Linked DNA regions of Homo sapiens: region 1 is linked to region 2. Evidence: promoter capture Hi-C in human tissues and cell types (Jung and others, 2019). All regions are on one chromosome and are shown on one strand. The core of a region is centred on a gene start or on the middle of the fragment in contact, and the rest is flanking DNA. Distances in the headings are between cores, read along the strand shown. Region 1 holds the start of LOC112268418 (a long non-coding RNA gene). Region 2 holds the start of SLC4A5 (solute carrier family 4 member 5).

Evidence for each region. The method cuts DNA at HindIII sites, captures the fragments that hold promoters and counts their contacts. A contact is called where the count stands out against the background at its distance.
Region 1: a fragment that was not itself captured here is called in contact with the fragment with the promoter of SLC4A5 in region 2 in 1 of the 25 tissues and cell types used here (spleen).

Annotation. Positions count from the first base shown.
Region 1 is chr2:73,692,408-73,695,437 of GRCh38, forward strand. It overlaps LOC112268418 (a long non-coding RNA gene), which reads left to right and starts at 1,458. Exons shown (of 2, transcript XR_007087079.1): 1 at 1,458-1,494; 2 at 2,310-3,030. The HindIII fragment of the contact is 3,400 bases long and covers 74-3,030 here.
Region 2 is chr2:74,341,939-74,344,687 of GRCh38, forward strand. It overlaps SLC4A5 (solute carrier family 4 member 5), which reads right to left and starts at 1,478. Exons shown (of 31, transcript NM_133478.3): 1 at 1,418-1,478; 2 at 520-596. The HindIII fragment of the contact is 6,725 bases long and covers 210-2,749 here.

The sequences.
Region 1 (3,030 bases), core at 524-3,023, 650 kb before region 2:
TGGGTTCTGAATTTTTCCTTAATAGCCTCACCATTTCATGAGCTCCCTAAAAAATGCTGTACCAGAGCCTTTATCTTGGGATGATAGTTACGAGCAGGCTTTTAGCTAAATAAAATTGACCTTGTAACAGCCTCCAGCTTTAGGACTTCCAAATTGCACTAAACTGTTTACCTAATTGGCTCATGAAAGTAATAATCAGGCATTTAGGAGTTCTTACCCAGGAACATGGGGAGAAACATAGGCCCATTGCATATTATAGCCTGCAATTAGACCCAGTAGCTAAGGTATATCCTAACTATTTAAAAGCAGTAGCAGCAGCAACCAGGATGAAAGAAGCTTCAGCTGATCTGGTTTTAGGAAATGAATTTAATTTGGAAGTCCCACATGCTAAATTCCACCCAAACCCAGCATTTTTTAGTAAGTAGACTAACATGAAATACTCTGTCTCCTTCTAATCTCTCTCTAAAACACTGCAATTTACTTAACCATGCCACTGTATTACTGCTGCCTGATGATGGTGAAGACCACAATTGCATAAGTGTAGCATCAGAAATAGTGGCCCCTCATGTTAATTTACAAGTTAGTCCTTTGGACAATCCTGAGTTAATACTTTTGTTGATGGGTCCTATGCCAAAAGCTCAGAAGGAAAATATCAGCTAGGATATGCTGTTACCAAAATGAGTTAATAGAGAAGGGACCCCTTCCTCTATTAGTCAGCTCTATTAGTCTAAGCTCTATAAGTCAGCTTAACTCTTGAAGATTTTTGCCCTCACCCAAGCTTGTCGTATAGCTAAAGACAAATCAGTAAGTATTTAGACAGATAGTAGATACGCTTTAGGAGTAGTACATGATTTTGGCATGATAGGGAAACTCTAAGGGTTTCTCACTTCTAGTGGGATCACCATCAAAAATGGACTCCAGTTAGATAAACTCCTAGTTTGCTGTTAGTGATCGAAGCTCATACCTGCAGAACTGAACCTGAATATCAAGGGAATGCTTAGCAGATATTTATGCTAAATCAGCTAGTACTGAAACTGTTCAGATATGCAACCTGAATGAACTTCATAAGATTAATCCAATCCAACTACCTTACAATGACCTATTTAATAAACAGTGCAATGCACCTCATTTGGAAAAACAAAACTGGTATCTAAAAGGATATAAATTCAATGTTAAGTGCAGACTCACAGAGGGCCTAGATGGCTGTCTGGTCTTTCCTGAGTCTTTGAAGCTTCTATTTTCAAAAGCTCTGTACTCCACAACTCATCATGGAACAGAAAAATACGTCCAAATTGTGAAAAAATACTTGTGGGATGATTGTTCCAAAATTGCTAGAATATATATATATATATATATGTATATATATTTTGAGACGGAGTCTCACTCTGTCACCCAGGCTGGAGTGCAAGGGCGCGATCTCAACTCACTGCACACTCCACCTCCCTGGTTCAAGTGATTCTCCTGCATCAGCCTCCCGAGTAGCTGGGACTACAGGTGTGTGCCACCATGCCCGACTAATTTTTTTTTATTTTTAGTAGAGATGGGGTTTCACCATGTTAGCTAGGATAGTCTGGATATCCTGACCTTGTGATCCACCTGCCTCGGCCTCCCAATATGCTAGGCTTACAGGCATTATCCACTGCACCCAGCCTGCTAGAATATTTTATAACCAATGTTGGCTTGTCAAACCCATAGTCCTGGAAAAACAAAAGATTCAGGTGGTGTATTGTATTTTCACCACCTAATGGATCATTTGAACAATTATAGATAGACTTCATTCAGTTGCCACCTTCAATGGGGGTCTCAGTATGTTCTTGTAATAGTTTCCATGTTTTCTGGTTGGGTAGAGGCCTTCCTGTGTAGGAAAGCTGATGCTGTGACAGTAGCTAAGAAATTATTAGAAAATGTGTTTTCTTTATGGAGCATCCCTGGAAAAATCCCCAGCAATAGGGGAATTCATTTTATTAGGCAGGTTATAAAGCAGTTAAACAAGGTGTTATGGACACAATGGCACTACCATTGTCCCTATCGCCCTCAGTCTTCTGAAAAGGTTGAAAGAACAAATGGCATATTAAAACTGAAATTGGCAAAGTTAACTGAATCAGTTGGGTTGCCTTGGCCAAAGGTACTATCATTGGACTTAATGACAATCAGATCCACTCTCACTAAAAAACAGAAGTGGATCCCTTATGAAATAGTCACTAGAAGGCCTATGCCCCAATAGTGAAACCTCATGCATCTTTCTGTCTCCTAAATTCTGATATGAGTAAGTACTGCAAGGCCATTATACCAAAGTGTACTTTCACCAGATAAAGGAAGCTTTTCAAGATCCACCAACTGAGGATAATCAAACCTTCCACAGTCTAGAACCTGGAGATTGTGTCTTCTGGAAATGACATCAGAGAAAGGCTGCTCTTGACAACTCTTTGGAAGGGACCGTGCTGAGATCTTCTCAACACCTACACTGCAGTGAAGCTTCAGGGCCTTGAAACTTGGGTCCACACCTCACAACTCAGAAGGGCCTCTTCAGACTCCTGGAACTGTACACCTGCTGGAGACTTTAAGGTAAAGCTGTCTAAGGAAATATCTCTCCAGAGCAGCGGGCATTCTAGCTGTGGACAGCTTTCCCAAGATCACAGATCAAGACTTCTGTATCATCATGAAAGCCTTACATTTTTTCTTTTCTCCGCATTTCCTGTTGCCCTAATTCTTTCTTTTTCCCTACAGAAAAATCCATGGGACGATAATCAGTGGATGGCTTTAGCTTGAGCATATGCTCTAGCACAGAACCAGAGTTTGTGGCTTATTGGGTTTGTTTTTATTGCCAAAAAAATAAGGAAACAATTCCGCTAATGCCAATGCCTCTCCATGTTGCCAATGAGAGTCACCCCAAAATTCCAAGGGAAGGATAGAAAGCTATCCTTGATATTCTGAACACCATTGCTACTTGTTTTCCTGCACTCACTAAAAGCAACACTTTAACTTTTCCTTTTTTTTTTTTTTTCTGAGGCAGTCTCACTCTGTTGCCTA
Region 2 (2,749 bases), core at 228-2,727:
CAAACCAAGCTGAATCCATTTCTGAGTAAGAGACTCTTACAGGGCTCCTGTCCTCAAAACTATATAAAATTGCTCAAATTATGTACTTCTGAGATAATAAATTAGCAGAAGAAGCACATAGCCCACCTCTTAAGATAGGGAAGTAGATCTGAAGTAGCTCAAGAAACAAAGTTTTCTACAGATGAAGGATGAGGGAAGGAAACCCAAGACCAGTTGATTCTGGTTTGGGAAATGATAACACTGGAGAACACACTCTACTATCTGTTTCTTGTGACATCCTTTGTGCTAAAGTTATCTCCTTTGTTGGCATGGCCACCATCCCTACTTCTAGTGCAGTGGAGATGTATGAGTGTCTCCATTGCTAAGTGTTTAGTTACTCAAGATAAACTTGACTGGAGAGGGTGTGGGCAGGCATTCAGTCAAGCAACAAGCCACTCACTGAGTGCCACCAATGGTGTGGGAAAAGATGACTCTCCTTAGACTGGTCCATCCAAAATAAAGGAGGTGGGGAGAGCATACCTGGGTGGTCTTCAGGGTACTCCTGGAAACATCCATCAGCTCATGAGCTCACAGCTGAATTCCAAATCCTGGGATGCCTGCTTGGAGGGAGGGTAAAACACCATTTCTCAGGGACAGAAGCCCACAAAGCTAAGGGCACTGGGTTTCTAAGTCAGGATTTCATCACGGCTGGATGACCCTTTTTTAAGGAAAGCCAGCTGATCTCCAGGACTCCTGATACATAAGAGCTATGCAGTCTGTCACTTCTAGGGAGAGAGATGGGGACTAGCTCTGGTTCCTCATGCGTTCCTTCCCTCTCACTCCCTAAAGACCTCAAGAAACAGATCCTTGGTAACAATGCCTTCTTTGGGCCAGAAAGCTTAGTTGAAGTGTGGATTCTTATACAAGTCTCATGTTTTCTGGACTCCTAGGAGACTCAGAGGAGACACCATAGGTAACCCTTATTGAACTGGAAGAAGTGTGAAGTACTATCAACCACTGAGACTCCCATGGCTCAAGAATATGCACAGAGGTCTAACTAGATATAGGTCTCAGCCCCTGACTTTAGAAGTCTGACATTCCACAGATATGCACACACTACACGCTCCCCTCACAGAGGAAACTGGAGTAGGGGGACACAGCAGAACAAAATCGCAACACTACTACAGGAAAACCTCGTCATTCCGTTACTTGTCCTTTGCTATGTTGGAATACTTATAGATTAGTTTCAACAATCAGGTTACTCCTTATCTTTGCTCTAAGTCTTGTACAGGCCTTTAGCAAAAAGCAATAAAATTCTCATCTGACTCTTGGTGGGCTGGGGAATCTGCCTATTCTATTCAGTTGGTTCACTCACATCTCCAAACCAGAACCTACAACCACTCTGTAACTTTATTTATGTAAAATCCACTCTACTTACCCCAGTGCAGTGGCCTGTGGCTCCTGGGCCCTGACTCCAATTCCTTTAGGGTGGACCTTGCAGTTGGAACCATCCACCTCTCGTTTTTTCTATCTCTGCTATTAACATAGCCCCTCCTCTATTGCCTCACCAACTATTTTCAAACCAAAAAGTCTTTGTCTATTCATAGCCACTGTAAAAGTAACATTCATTTTTCTGTTTTTTAATCTAATGTCTGCGTCTTCAGTGGTTCTCACTGGCTAATCTAATCAGTGTGTTCTAGGGAGGTTTATTCCTTGCCTGTTCAGCTTGTCCCAGCACAACAAAGGTAAGTCATTTGCCTGGGGAGAATCAGCTCTTTTAAATCAGACAATCCTCAGGAAAGATGTCAGGACTTTTGCCTCTTTTCTTCATGGGACTGAGATTCAGGAGAACATTCCACATTCCACTGCCACACAGCTCTGCAAACCCCAAATCCTGACTCTCCGAAGAAGGATATGGGCAAGGAAAACAAAGAAGGCATTTGAAAAAACCAAACCTTGCAAGAAAAACTTTGCGTACTTGGTGATTTTTCCAGGTTTATCCTGACTTTTGGCCTCTGTTTTTATGAATTCCATTTTTGTTTAAGTGAAAAAGATACGGTGAGAGAGACATAGTGGAAAATGGGAAGTTTGGAGGAAGATGGGAAGGAAGAAGCCAGTGAGTAGGAAGTGAGAATCGGGAGTGGAGGGAGTGAGGGACGCGGTGCTGAGCGATGGGGAAGAGAAGCATGCCAGGAAGGCGCAGCGTCTCTGGGCACCCAGCATGGGGCCTGGTATATGCACACATTTCCCCTCATTGAACTCTCAACAGTCCAGTGGGGAGAGCATTCTCGTCCCCAACCTTACAGAGCTGGAACAGAAGCTCAGAGACTTACAGACAGGAAGAAAAGTAGGAGCTGGAAGCCCCATTAAAAAAGCAACTCTACCCCTCTTCTTCCAGTCTCTTCTGTGGCTTCTCTAAGGGTCTTCAGCCTCCTTATTTCAGGGTTGACCTTCTCTTTCAGATAGGAAATTTATCATCTGGTTGGATATCCTCACTTTCTTCCTAGATCACGTGGAGTTTTCCCTTAGTGGAAAAGCCTCATTCCTGGATCTAGAGCCTGCTGGTGGCAGACATGTAAAAAACATGTTTCGGAGGCCATGCCCAAGCCAACACATTAACCCAACATTATAGTTTCTGTTAATAATCCATGGAATCAAAGACAGGCAAGACTAGGGAGATCAACACATGCTGGGTCACCAGAGGCTTTCCTGGTTTTAGCACAGAAGATCTGTGACCCAGGAAACCCCTTAGTCCCAGGAAGATCAGCAC